2 separate regions of the Homo sapiens genome follow, and region 2 is linked to region 1. Evidence: promoter capture Hi-C in human tissues and cell types (Jung and others, 2019). All regions are on one chromosome and are shown on one strand. The core of a region is centred on a gene start or on the middle of the fragment in contact, and the rest is flanking DNA. Distances in the headings are between cores, read along the strand shown.

Evidence for each region. The method cuts DNA at HindIII sites, captures the fragments that hold promoters and counts their contacts. A contact is called where the count stands out against the background at its distance.
Region 2: a fragment that was not itself captured here is called in contact with the fragment with the promoter of UNC5D in region 1 in 2 of the 25 tissues and cell types used here (H1 embryonic stem cells and thymus).

The regions. Positions count from the first base shown.
Region 1 is chr8:35,232,573-35,240,132 of GRCh38, reverse strand. UNC5D (unc-5 netrin receptor D) reads right to left here and starts at 4,658. Exons shown (of 17, transcript NM_080872.4): 1 at 4,246-4,658. The coding sequence starts at 4,348. The HindIII fragment of the contact is 15,361 bases long and covers 1,174-7,560 here.
Region 2 is chr8:35,285,174-35,292,733 of GRCh38, reverse strand. The region is part of intron 1 of UNC5D (unc-5 netrin receptor D); the gene reads right to left. Among named protein-coding and RNA genes, the nearest start is that of UNC5D, 53 kb to the right of the region's middle. RefSeq lists enhancers at 5,571-6,071, 6,072-6,572. The HindIII fragment of the contact is 4,518 bases long and covers 2,741-7,258 here.

The sequences.
Region 1 (7,560 bases), core at 3,409-5,908:
ACAAACAAACAAACACACACAAAAAATTACTGAGCCGGGTGTGATGATGCATGCCTACAGTCCCAGCTACTCAAGAGGCTGGGGTGGGAGGATCACTTGAGCCTAGGAGTTCGCCACTGCAGTGAGCTATGATGGCACCACTGCACTCCTGCCTGGATGACAGAGTGAGAACCTGTCTCAAAAAAGAAAAGAAAAGAAAAGAGAAAAGAGAAAAAGGAAAAAGGAAAGGAAAGGAAAAAAGAAAAGGAAAAGAAAGAAGGAGGGAGAAAATAAGTGTCTCTACATAGAATATGTGACTAAGAATGAAATAGAAATAGGGAACGTTTCCATTGATCTATTCTGTTGAGCAGTTAGTTCATGAAGGTATCAGAAGGAGGAGGAAGGAAGAGAAGACAATGATGTTGCTGGCCAAGTAACAGCCTGGACGAAGGGACAATCAGCATTAATGGCAAAGGTGTAATCAAGAAGGAGGGCACATCTGGGCTCCCTGTGAACACATGTGCCTTCCCATTATGAGGGCATCACACACCACCACCACCCCCTTCCTTAAGAGGATGCTATGGAATAAATCACTTGTCTTTGGGATTAGATTTTAATACATGTCTGAGTCTCTAGCCTAGATATTAAAAAAAAAAAAGCAGAAGGGAAGGATATCAAACATGCAGTATCTCCCAATAAACCAATTCCCTGATAAACACTGGCAGTGCTTTAAGTTGGGTACTGCATTTGGTAGGAAGAGGACAATAGAAACAAATTTATGAAGCATTGAGACAATAAACAGAAAAGTGATTTCCTAATCAATAAGACAGCGCAGTGTAGAACTACCTGACGGATTCAGTCATCCAGTCCTGAGAGAGCTCAGAAAGGATCCACAGCTCCAAATGTTTCCCTCCCCTGTGAGGTACTACTTAAAGAACCACAGACCCACCGATAGGTCATCTGGAGAGCAAAAAAAGTATGCAAAGGGTGACAAGTGCTATCATTATAGGGCTAGGTCAGAACAATTAATCTCTTATTAAAAACTGAGATGCTTAAAAGATCTCTTAAGAAGGTGCCACTGGGCTGCTCAAAATAAGAGCACAACCCAAGAATCAGGAAAAAATAAGTCTGGCAGGAAATAGGGGAAAAAGACTCTTTCTCATAGTCCTAGGAAGAGAAAGATTTGTGAGGAAAAGGAACAGAAGAAGTAAAGTGGGAAGGAAGAGGGTGGCCTCACAACATTCATTAAGGTAGAAATGACTATAGATTTTAAACTTTATGAGCTAGACAGATAGACGGATTTAAGTATGTGTAAATCACAAGACTATTATTATGCCTATGTAATAAATGTGTACTTCTCTTGCCATTAATGCATTACTCTAGTTATTGCAATCAAAATTTCATTGTCCAGGAAATGTTTTAAAGCAAGAAATTGTATGAAAGCTCAGCTTGTCTAAGATTATCTTCCTCTCTGCCTTTAATGACTACAGTATCTTATGTACAGTATCTAAGGCAAAAATAACAAGCAGATGAACAGCAGTCCCCCTTTTTTTCTTGAAGAACAAAAACAAATCAGTATGACAACATGATGTGGATTCAGTTAGCACTTGGCAGGTCATGAATAACTTTTAAACAACCTCCTTTTAAGTTGGAAAGTGTAAAAATATACAGTGATCATGGCACCAGAGTGCCTTCCTTACAATATGCCGACAGGCAGAGATGTTCATCTGAAGAGCTAAGTCTTACTTACAAAGGAGGGAAACAGAACATTGCTTCTTGGGCCACTACTGGGCTCTACAACATTTCCTTGTCCCAAGGGTCTTCCTCCTAGAGTATATTCAAAACCAATTTGAAATCTCCCTCTGATTTGCAGAGGTTTCTACATAAGTATGGAGGGAAAGGAAAGAAAAAAAAAAGTTGGTGCAATCATTTTGGAAACAGATAAATGATAAATATGGTAAAGAAAACGCTACTGAATTGTTAAATATTCTCATAACAGCAAGGCAAATGGCATAATTCTATACCCCGTTGGTTAGGGCAAGCAAAGTATCTTGTTTCAAATCAACAAGAAAAGTCCTAAAGAACAAAAACTATTAATTGGATAAGTAAGAACAACCTAGGGCTAATCCTAGAGAGTATGGTGAGACTAGTGGTCAGGCAAGCATGCCACACCAGTGCATCTTATCTTGGTTTTAATGAATGGACACCTTTCTGGGAAGGGAGAACTTCATAAGCACTGAAACACACCCTCTATTCTGAAAACTCCAATTACACCCAACTGTGCAAAGCCAGGTGCATGTGGCTTCACCGGTTTCACAGCCTGACTAGTGCTCATTTCTTGAGGACTCTCTGACAGTTGCTAAGGGGAATGGGCCTCATGCCCCAGAATGTAAAATATGACATGGGAAATATCAGTCAGATTTACGGCTCCACTCCATGTGTCTTGCATATTACTATGATCTGTGCAAGACATTTGTTGTAAATAAGCCTGCAGAATGTACAGCATGTTTTCCAGGAGACCTTTAAAGAACAGCTTGCAGACAAGAGGTGCTAGCCTTAGTTTCGCAGCCAGCAAAACTCCATCCAAGAGGCTGCTGGCATGTCCCCACCTCTTGTTTCGAGCTGGCTTCAAGACAACGTCACCAACCCAATTCCAAGGGTGAGTACCTGGAGTTAGTGACTGTGAGGTATTCCACACGAATAGTAAGTGGAAACTCAGACATTTAGATTAACATTTAGAAAAGACCCACTTTTCCCATAAGAGTGTATTAAAAACAACTGAGAGCTGACTTTGCAATGAGACATTTGCCGTACGTAGTAAATTAAATGGCTGAAGCTTGTGCTTCTTCCAGTACGAGAAGGAACTGTGGTTCATCATAACCCAGGGTGTACAATCACCGACGCTCATTTTTAAACCTCCCCTGCTTCTTACAAAGCCCGCTCCATTAAAAAAAAAAAAAAAAAAAAAAAAAAACTTTTCAGGAAATGAAATGCAAATGGGCAAAGAATAGGATCATACAATGGAGAGCCTCTATCAACCTCTTAAAAAGAAAATCTTTCTAGGCAGCCGGACTGCTTTTAACACGCCATAAGCTTTTATAAAAATGAGATAACATTGGTTCTTTTGTGATCGTCCTCAACCCTTTCCACCCTTTCACTCTCCAGGCTGGTCGGAGCATGTTCAGGAGACCGAACAGAGCAGGTGAAGTGGTCAGCTCAGCTCCACCTCTCCCCTGGCAAGTGTAAGGCAAATCATTTAACGGTATCACATATTCTAAGCCTGATGGATGGAACACAGAGAAGGAAAAAGGGAAAGAAGGGCGGGAAGGCAAAGCTTCCGATTTTTTTCAAAGGTAAAGCTCCGGTACTTGAGCTGTGTCTGAAACTGCCTCTGATCATCTTCAAAACAACTCCTTGGGATTTATCTTTAACTTGATGCTGCCTGTCCTCGCTCAAGGTGGAGCTGAAACCAGTTGCGAAATTTCCCTCTGCTGGAGTCCAGAGGATCCAAGAAAATGGGGTCTAGGCTTCTAAGTCGGAAAGAAGCAGAGGTTTCCCTGCGGCTCGGTGGGGCCCGCGCTTCCAAGCCAGAGTAGGCGCCGGGAAGGGAGAGGAGGCGCCTGGTGAGCAGCCTCGGGCCAAGTGCTCATCCCGGCTGGGCACTGCAGGCGCGGTTAAACTGGGATGGTGCACGCCGCTCTCCCGAGCTCCAGGGCTGGCTGGGACCTCGGGCTAAGGACGCCCGAGGGGTGCCAAGCTAGGCGCAGAGCGAAGGGACTTCAGCATGGGTGTTCCTCCCCTAAGGGAAAAGACACCCTCTCTGTTCAAGCCCACCCTACAGACACTCCCATCACCTGGCCCCTCTCCCCAGGAACTCTCCGACATCGCTATGGGCGCTAACTCATGACCAAGCTCGGCTTGAGAGGAAGTGGAGAGGAGAGGGGAGAGCGAGATTGGAGTGAAGACCGGGCTACTCCAGTCTGCAGCAATTGGGGAGGGCTTGGAAAATGGAGCAGGCAAGGAGGGTCCAGGAAAACGGTAGGGGCCCGGGTCACAGCCACCTGTAGGATTGCGGCAGATCGCAAACTTGGGTTGGAAGGCTGTGGTCCCCTCGGAGTCCTCCACTCGGCTCCCATCCGGTTGGGCTTGGAGCGCCGAGGTGCAGGGCGCAAGTTGGGAAGCCAACGCCATCGGTGCAGGTCCCGCTCCGTCAGGCTGGCGCCCCTGCGCCCTCGCCCCCAGCTGCCCGCTCCGCCCAGCGCTTACCTCGGGCAGCCGCGGTCCCTGCCGCCCAGAAGCACAGCCCCAGCCACGGGAGCCAGCGGCGCGCCCCTCCGCCGCCGCCTGCGGTGGCCGCCGCTCTCCCCATGCTCCTCGCCGCGTTCCGGAGGGCGGCTCTTCTTCACGCTCCGGGAGCCCGGGAAAGGGTCGGCGATGAGGGTCCCGAGTCGAATGGGTCTCGGGAGTCTTCAGAGAGTGACTCTGCTCCACGATCGCTTCCTAAAGCAGCGGGGCAGGGAGCTCCGAGCCGCCGCTGAATGGGCACCCCGAGAAAGGGCGCGTCCCCATAGCTTCCCACGGCGCGGCGACCGCTGCCGCCAGCGCGGATGCCGGAGTCGCCCGCAGTCCCCGCCGCGCAGTTCCCAGCCCTCGCGCCGCTGCCGGGCCCCGAACTACGGAGCGGAGGCGAGAGTCCGCATCGCTAATGAGACCCCCGCAGCCGCCCCTTCCCCTCCCCTCCGAGCGGCAGCCAATGAGCCGGGCTGGGGCGGGGCCGCGGGAGGGGCGGTGACGCGGCGGCGCTGGGCTGGGGCCCGGGAGGCGCAGGTGAGCCAGAGGCCGCTCCACGTGCCCCCGGGGCGCTTCGGGCCCCGCCTGCAGCTCCCCCCCCCGCTCGCGGAGAGAGGAAGCGGGCTGGGAGTCGGGCGGCGGGGATGCGGCCACGCCGCGGGGAGCTGAGCGGAGCCGGCTGGCCTCTTGGGGCGAACGCCGCACAGATATGTGGGCATCTCGGTTGCCTAACTCAGTCACCTGCTTCCAGGAGACCTCCGTTTTGTTCATCTACTTTGAGCCCTTCTAAAGTCCTGCCTCTCCTACTTCCACTTTTTCCCATTAGATCAGACATCACTCAGGAAAACATCCTGAGAAAAAGAAAGACTTAAAATAAATGCGTAGTGGGAAAAAATAATAATGGAGTTACTCCATTGCTGCAACTATGCTAACTTCATTCATATAAATAAAGAAGTGGGGAATAACAATCATGGGTGCATTAAGGCTTGTATAATCGATTTTTATTTTTGCTTTCTTTTTTTTTCGAATTCCCTATTCTGTTGTCCTGAACACTCCGGAATCCCCAAACTTTTCAGAAGCTCCCTCATTTCGAATGGCTCCTATTTTTGTCAGTTTTAATCTGAGCCCAAGGAATTGCCTTCTGGTAAGTATCAGGGAAAGGAGTGTCGACTTAAAAAGGAAGAAGGTGAGGCGAAATTAATATAAGTAAGAGTTTATTTGGGCCAAGTGTGAGGATTGCAACTCAGGAGTATAGATTTAAGTTGTTTTGAATATATATTTTGATTAGTAGTAGTTATAAGTGGATTCTTAAAGGCAAAAAAAAGGGGGATGGGGAGTGGACTGATGTAACATTGTTAGGAATTTATACTGATTTATTGAAATAATGTCGATTAGTGATTAGTTATATATAGTTAAGTCATAGGATGTGGGTTATACTGTTTGATGTGGTATTATTAGGTTAATTTATAGCTATTTGTAGTAATAGTATGTAGTTTTAAGAAATGAATATATAGTTTAAAGGAAGGAGTAGGGCATGATTGTGGTCTCATTCTAATGTCTCTCTGGGCCTGACAATTAAAAGGACTTTGAAACGCGCTGGACTTTTATAAGAAGAAGGAAAGAAGACTCTTTTTTTTTTTTTTTTTAAGTGTGGCTTGTTTTAGATAGATTATCAAATTTTTATTTAACTGCTTTCGAAAATACCTCACGGTTGCCTCTTCCCTCTGCTGGAGGAGTAACTTTAGAGAGCTTGTCCTAGGTCACTCAATTTCAGAGCACACCCAGGAAGTTGGTGGGGAGTCCCAGGCTCCCCAATTGGACTACCTCATTATCGCTGCCAGGATCGAGTCCTCAAAATGGCAGCAGAGCTCACCTTTTGCCTGGTAATCCCCCATAGAAAAGGGAGCCTTGGTTTGAAAGGCAACCTTCCCAGCAGTTCCTCACTACCCACGCTCAACATCAAGTACTTTTCAAAAATCCATGTCTCCCGCCAATGTGCTACCTGCTCCCAAACGCCTTTCTCTGAAGAATAAACAGTTTAAGGTGAGGTAATTGTTCTAGATGAGGTAATTGCACTAACTCACTTTCTTCCGAGGAAAAGGAAGATAATAGGCAAAAAAGATTGATTCTCTGATAAGCACTTTTGTGCCAGCCCTCTCTTGAGTGCCACCAGACACGTGAATGTCTGTGCAAGAAGCCGATTGTTTCCTCCGGTCGCCTTGCGGCTCAATAAAAGGTTTGGGACCTAGTCAAGAAAACCAAGCTCTGGGGAATGGATGCTTCAAAGCAAAGACTGATGTGGGGCTGGCTAGGGACTTGCCTGGAAATCTCTTTAGAATCTTGGTAAATGAGGGTTTTGTCCTTTTCTGCTTAGAAGGTGAATTGAGAATTAATCTACCAAATATGCTTTACCTGTCTTCTGGAAAATAGTCATTCATCGCCTGACTTTCCTTATTCTTCAGGACTATGTGGCAGTTCTGTCACAAATGAGGATTTTCTTAGAACAAAAAAGGAAAAAAGAATTACTATGTGTCCAAGATACTATTTAAGTCTTTCTACTGACCCACTGGGGGCAAAAATAAAATCAGTTTTATTTCAAAATGGGATATAAGTAATAGATAAGCTAATTTTAGGTTAATAATTCAAGTAAAATTGCAATGACAAATGAGAGTGAAGGGGGAAATTAATAACCTTTTAGTGTATACCATGCTCAAGGATTGAGTCTCTCATGCAGATTATTATTTTAAAGCAGAACCAAACCCTGCAAGGTAGGCGTTATTATTCCTATTTAGCAAGTGAGGAAAGTCAGATTGAGTTTAAAGGTGATTTGCCCAAGATCACATTAGTAAGTGGCTGAACGTCATGAATGATATACTAGTTTGTGTAATTTTAAACCCAAGATGAAGGCTGAGGTAGCATCCATTCAATCAGGTTTTCCAGAGATAGACTTTCCACCTCATCCTCCTCAGAACTGTTTAGATACCGGGTTGACAGAAGTTGAATCTTTAGTATTATACACACTGTATTAATTGCACATCACTATTATGTTTCAGATGGTAATATACCCTATATTAATCTAATCCTGGCTATTTTTTAACATGTGTGAATTGTACTTTATTCCATTATGGAGAAATATGTATATCTATTTGGAGAAATAAGTTGAGTAGTTGCTACCCAGGATCACTGTCTCTGGCCAAGAAACAGCAGGATGTAATAGAACTTTCGTGAGATTCAAGACAGGCAGAGGCTAGGCGCTGACACTATCAGGGACTGGTTAGATAGCCTCGGCCA
Region 2 (7,560 bases), core at 3,750-6,249, 52 kb before region 1:
AAAAAAAAAAAAAAAAAGGAAAAAAAAGGAGGGACTACAGCATATAGCAAAATAACATACAAAATATGTATACATCATTTATGTTATTGTTAAGGCTTTCTATCAACAGTAGGCTATTAGTAGTTAAGTTTCACGGGATTCATAATTACACAAAGATATTTGACTCCACTGTGGGTCAGTATTCCTAAGCCCTGTGGTTTTCAAAGGTCAACTGTAAATTCAAGTTGCTTTTTTAACCATTTTTGAAAGCTTTGACCAATGTCCAACATTGCAATGCTACAATAATTAGAACAAAATTTTTCTGCTAGAAATGAATTAATAACTGAAGTTCTGAATATGCAGCATGCTCTAATCCTGGTTTTAAAAATCCCTAATGGGCTTTGTAGCAATGCAATTTGGCAAAGTGAGTAAAATCCTCACATAATAGATAAAGGTAATTAGAGATGCAGAACAAATTCTTTTTAAATGCCCTGAATGCAATTCGGACACTTTACTTCCTTCTTCAGAAATGGGAAACTAGTGAAGGGAAGAAATGAGACAAATCAAGAAAAGAATATGGGAAAATCGAACTGTATCAACCACAAAGGGATTTGGGGCTTGAGAGTTGTTAGAATTCCTTCTAGCTATTTTGACTTTCCAAAATCTCCCAAGAAACTGGCCAACTTGCAATTAGTGAATCTCTTTATTTAGAAATAGCCTAACTTCAATTAGCTTGCCAAAATGGGGGAAGAAACCTAGAAGAAAACCAGCGGGTGAATGTTCATGGATAACGAATATTTTTTCCATGGCTGTACAATCTCTTCTCATAACTAACAGCAATCATTCCAAAGAAGTACACATTTGTCTTCAGTATATGAAGAATAAATTGGTTTTATATCAAAAATAATCACCTGGTTAGACTTCAAACTGAAACTTATCTTTACAAAAAATGTGGCACTCTGAGCTACATCTATAACTGGTTACTTGAAATTCAACTACAAAAGAGAGAAATGAAAGAATGGAACAGAATAAATGGAATTTAGAATCAAGCGGTATCAGAAGTGGAATGTCCTTAAAGGCACACAATCCACCACCCAAACCAATGACACCATAAAGAAACAGCCCCAAGAAGTTACTGAAGTGTCTGAAAGCCAATCATTATATACAGGGAAAGCTGAGTCCAGAATGAAATCTTCAGTTTTCCAGCTCAGTTTTTTTCTACTGCAAAATCAGGCCCGTTTTCCCACCATCAGCTCCATAGGCCCATGGATGTGCTGAATTACTAAGCAAGTGATGGTCAGACACCAAGGATGTCATGTGAACCTGATGGAGACATATCCTTTATGGTACTTAGAATAGTTTGCTGGTTGACTTATACAACAATAAATAAGTGATTTCAAATTCCTTGTCTCTTTTTATTGTTTTTTACTTAAATTCTATTTTGTCTGATGTAAGTTAATTATCCCAGCTCTCTATCAGTTCCCATTTGCATGGGTAAACTTTCTCCATCCCTTCTCTTTCAGTTTGTTTCCTTACTAGTAATATGAGTCTCTTGTAGGTACCATGTGGTTAGATCTTGTTGTTTTTGTTGTTGTTTTTTCCATTCAGCCACTCTATATCACACAATTTGCTCCCAGCAAGGCAATTCTGAGAAACTCAGTTTCCACTTGGTTTACTGGGCATTGGTCTGAGGTTTAATTCTAAAATCCCTCTCCCACAAGGATAGCCAAAAGTAGCTGATTTCTGGTTACCCTTCCAATTTCTCTGACACTCTTTCTAGTCACACCTCTTTTTTTTTTTTTTTTTGAGATGGAGTCTCGCTTTTGTCGCCCAGGCTGGAGTGCAATGACACGATCTCAGCTCACTGCAACCTCTACCTCCCAGGTTCAAGCGATTCTCCTGCCTCAGCCTCCTGAGTAGCTGGGATTACAGGCACGCACTACCACACCTGGCTAATTTTGTGTTTTTAGTAGAGATGGGGTTTCTCCACGTTGGTCAGGCTGGTATCCAACTCCTGACCTCAGGTGATCCGCCCGCCTTGGCCTCCCAAAATGCTGGGATTACAGGCATGAACCACCGCGCCTGGCCTCCACACTTCTTTTTTTAAAATTAATATTTAAACATTTATCTTAGTTACTTTGAAGTATATAATACATTATTATTGACTATAGATGCCTTGCTATGCAATAGATATTAAAACCTACTCTTCCTGTCTATTAGAAACTTGGTAACCTTTGATTAACAACTTCTCATTCCCTCCCTCCCCAACCCCCTACCCTTACCCCAGCCTCTGGTAACCACTGTTCTACTCTCTAATTCTATGAGTTCAAAGTACAATCATACAGTATTTGTCTTTCTGTTCCTAGCTTATTTCACTTAGCATAAGGTCCTCCAGATTCATCCATGTTGTCACAAGTGACAGCATTTTCCCCTTTTTTAAGGTCTAAGAGTAGTTTATTATGTATATACACCATCTTTTCTTTATCCATTCATCCACTGATGGATGCTTAGGTTGCTTCCATATCTCAGCTATTGTGAATAATGCTGCAATGAACATCCCTTCGACATTGATTTCAGTTCCTTTGAATATATACCCAGAAGTGGAATTACTGAGTCATACAATATTTCTATCTTTAGTTTTTTGAGGAACCTCCATAATATATACATTCCCGCCAATAATATACAGAAGTTCCTTTTTCTCCATATCCTCTCCCAACACTTGCCTTTCATCATTTTGATAAAGACATTCTAATGGGTATGAGGTGATACCCATTATATAATTTATTTTTATTTTTATTTTTCATTTTTTGTTTCAGAGCCAGAGCCTCACTATATTGCTCTGGCTGGTCTCAAATGATCCCTCCTGTCTCAGCCTTCCAAGTGGCTGAAATTACAGGCAGATGCCACCATGCCTGGCTCTTTTATTGTGGTTTCGATTTTTCTAATGATTTGCAATGCTGAGCATTTGTTCATATACCTATTGGCCATTTATATGTCTTCTTTTCAAAAATGACTGTTCAAGTACTTTGCCAACATATAATTTGAGTTGTTTTCTTGCTATTGAATTGTTTGAGTTCATTATATATTTTGGATGTTAACCTGTTATCACACGTATTATTTTCATTCTCTTAAATTTGTTAAGATTTGTTTTGTGGCCTAATGTGTGATCTATCTGGAGAGTGTTCCATATGCATTTGAGGAGAATGTGTATTTTACCATTGTTGGATGGAATGTTCTGTACATATTTATTAGGTCTATTTGATCTAAATTACAATTCAATTCCAGTGTTTCTTTTCCATCTAGATGATCTGTCCATTGTTTAAAGTGTGGTGTTCAGATTCCCCTGCTATTACAGTATTGCAATCTATCTGTCCCTTCAGATCATTTAATAATTTCTATATGTATTTCAGTGCTACAATGTTTAGTGCACATATATTTACAACTTTTATGTCTGCTTGATGAATTAACTCCTTTGTCATTATGTAACAAACTTCTTTGTCTCTTTTTATTGTTTTTTACTTAAACTATATTTTGTCTAATGTAAGTTGGTTATCATTGCTCCCTTTTAGTTTCCATTTGCATGGAATACCATTTTCCATCCCTTCTCTTTCAGTTCATGTATCATTACTGATAAGGTGAGGCTCTTGTAGGTAGGATGGGGTTAGATCTTATTTCTTTTTTAATCCATTCAGCCACTCTATATCATTTCATTGAAGAATTTACACCACATATATTCAAGGTAATTATTGATAGGTAAGAACCTGCTACTGTCTTTTTGTAATTTGTTTCCTGATTGTTTTTTAGGTCCCTTCTTTTTTTCTTCCTTTCCTGCTGTCTTCCTTTGTGGTTTGATGGTTTTCTGTGGTGATATGCTTTGAATTCTTTCTTCTTACATTTTGTGAAACTGCTATAGGTTTCTACTTTTGTGGTGGTCATGAGGCTTACATAAAATATCTCATCCTTATGAAAGGCTACTTTAAGCTGATAACAACTTGCCTTTACATGCATATAAAAACTACACTTTCACCCTCCCAACAACTTTTATGATATTGAAGTCCAAATTTACATTTGTTTTTGTAATTTCTATCTCAACAATTTATTCTAGCTATAGTTGTTTTCAATTTTTTTGTGTGTTAACCCTCCTAGTAGGAATACAATTGTTTTATATACCACCGTTACAGTATTAGAGAATTCAGAGTATGACCAGGCATTACTTATACCAAAGAGTTTTTTACATTCACATATCTTTTGTTATTAAAAGCCTTTTCTTTCAGCTTAAAGAAACCATTTAGTAATTCCTGTAAAGCAGGCCTAGTGGTGATAAACTCCCTTAGCTTTTGTTTGTCTGTTTTTATTTGCTCGAAAGTTTTTTTTTTGTCCCTCATTTATGAAGAACAGCTTTACCAGGTATAGTATTTTTGGTTGATAGTCTTTCTTTTCCCCAGTATTCTGAGTATACCATCCCACTCTCTCATGGCCTGTGGGATTTCTGTTGAGAAATAAGCTGAAAGATGTACTGGGGCTCCCTTGAATGTGATATGCTTATTTTCTGTAGCTACTTTCTGTATTCTTTATCTTAATTTTTAATAATTTGATTATTATGTGTATAGTAAACTCCTCTTTGGGTTCAATTTGATTGGCAACCTCTGAGCTTCCATGAGATTATCTGTCTCCAGATTTGGGAATTTTTCAGCCATTATTTTCTTAAATATGCTGTCTAAGCCTTTTGCACTCTCTCATCCTTCAGGAATTTGTATTATGCAAAGGTTAGTCCACTTACTGGTGTTCTATAATTTTCATAGGCCTTCTTCACTCTTTTATATTGTTGATTTTTACTGCTTTGATTCGATAATTTCAAATGTCCTATATTTGAACTCACTGATTCTTTCTGCTGCTTAAATCTGCTTTAAAGTATATTTATTTATTTATTTATTATTTAGTCATTTTTTTTGAGACAGGGTCTCACTCTGTCACCCAGTGAGTGCAAAGGTGCAATCATAGCTCACTGCAGCCTCAACCTCCAGGGCTCAAGCAATCCTCCAACCTCAGCCTCTGAATATCTGGGACTACAGGCACACATCATCATTCCTGACTGAATTTTGCAATTTTTCTTTTTTTTTTTTGGTAGAGGCAGGTTTTCTCCATATTGCTTAGTCTGGTCTTGAACTCCTGGACTCAAATGATTAGCCGCCTCAGCCCCCCAAAGTACTGGGATTTCAGGCACGTGCCACCATATCCAGTCTTCTTTGAAGCTTTCTATTGACTTTTAGGGTTCAGTTATTATATCCTTTATCACTATGACTTTCATTTGATTTTTTTATTTGTTTCTTCCATTTCTCTGTCAAACTTTTCATTTTGTTTATAAACTGTTTTCTAAACTTCACTTAATTCTCTATCTGTATTTTCTTGTAGTTCCCTGAACTTCTTTTAGAGGATTATTCTAAATTCTTTGTCAGTCATTTCATAGATCTCCATTTATTCTGGGTCTATTACACAAGCTTTATTGGTTTCTTTTGGTGGTGTCATGTTGCCTGATTTTTCATTATCTTTGTGTCCTTATGCCTGTGCATTTGAGGAGAAAGCCAAATTTTCCAGCCTTTGCAGGTGTTTTTTGGTGGTTATAGATCTTTACCATTTAGTCTAGCCTGAGATTCTGGAGGGGTGGCTGGCAGCCTTTGCTTGGTGTCAGGTTCTATAATTGGGCTGAGCTGCTTCCTGTGCTCTGAGATCAAATAGTATTTCTGGCTGTGCTCTGTGATCAGTGAAACCACTAGCTGAACTTTGCCATCAGGTGAGGCTGCTGATTGGACTCTGCAGCCATGACTGATTAGGTAGAGTTGCAAGTTGTCTTCCCTGGCTCTGTTGTTTGGAACCTGTAGTTGGGCACGGCTGTATGACAGGCTCCCATGCTGGGTGAGATTTTTGTGGTTGTTACTCAGCCACACAAGGTGGACAAGGCCAGAGGATATGCCCTATAGACATGTGTGGACTTGGGCTTACCTACTGGTCTAGGGTAGAGTAGAACGCCAAGGTTTGGTGGTGGCCAGATGCTCTTTCCATGGGTAATCACTGACCTGCAACTGCCTCCTGGTTTGGGGAAGACATAATGAGAGCATCAGGGCTGAGTTGGATCATCTCTTCACTGCTAGGCTTGGGCAGGACCAGATATTGTGTCCATGAGTAATCACTGACATGCAGTTGCTTCTCTCCCAATCTGGGGAAGATTTCATGTGAGCGCCAGAACTTAGTTGGATTACCTCTCCACTGCTAGGGTCAGGCAGGGCCAGATGCTCCCTCCATAATCATTGGCTTAGAAGCACCTGGCAAATGTGGGGAAGCTCGCTAGGAATTCAAGCCTAGAAGACTTGTGGGCGGTGTTTCCTACAGTATGACACTGTTGGCTAGTTTCTCTGGTGTGGCACTCACTCCCAAGTTCTTGAATATTTGGGTTGGTATTCTTGCCTGTGGATAGTTGCTAGTTGGATTTCTGTGAGGTGAGTAAAGTTAAACAAAAATTCCTATTCCACCATCTTGTTGGTGTCACTCTGGGAAAATGGTCACACTTTCTTAAAGTCATATATATTGATTGTATTTGACAGACAGAGTGAAATGCAGCCCTATTTGTGATGATAATGTCTTTTAACAGTTGTCAAGACTGATTTGACAGAAGGCTACAGTCAGTCCTAACTGCCAAACAGCTTTTTCATTTTTATATAAAACTTTGGGGCCTCATAAATCGTTACTATATTTTATTTTTCCCTAAAAAATGACATACTCACAAACTGTGACTTACGTTTCTAATGTTTCTGTTTCTATGTTATTTTTTAAGATTATACTGTCATATAAAATGTGCTAACTGTACAATCACAGGACTTTCACCTCACTCGACTACAAAGTCCAAAATGTAGCTAGATAGAAAACTGCTTATAATGTTGATAGCCTCATTGTCAGATTCATGCATAAGGGAATTAATCTGTGGATTCCCCTGGCTATCTCTTGGGGTAAGGCTGACTTCTTACCCCAAGAGACAGGTAAAACACCCTTCACTGGGGCTCACCCAGAAAGACCTCTTCAGTAAGAAGCTTAACCTGTATACAGCAGTGATTACAATTCTTTGCTCTGGATTAAGAAAAACAAATTGTTTTTTCTAGATCCCTGAATAAATATAATTGATCAATTAGCTTGATTTTTACCCTTTATCTCACATGATAGCAAATTAAATGCTACCCAGAAAGCTTACTTGGATTCATCTATCACCACCTTGAAGAAAATTTAACGTTATTCACATATTCATAGAACACTAGAAATTGAACTTATGCAAAGCTTCATCTGAAACCAATTACTACTTCTAAACAAAACTAGAGCCAAACATTCGGGACAACGGTTATCTTCCAAATACTACAGAATGTCCTAGCATGAATGGCATAATTCTCCTAGGGAGACCCAGGGAAAGGTGTTTGCCCGAAAATAAGTTAGCCTTGTCCTGCAGAGAATAGGTTGGAAAAATACGCAGGCCTTTTCCTCATCCATGAGTCTAACAAGGACACTACTGCACTGTCAAGCAGTTTCATATCTGCCTAG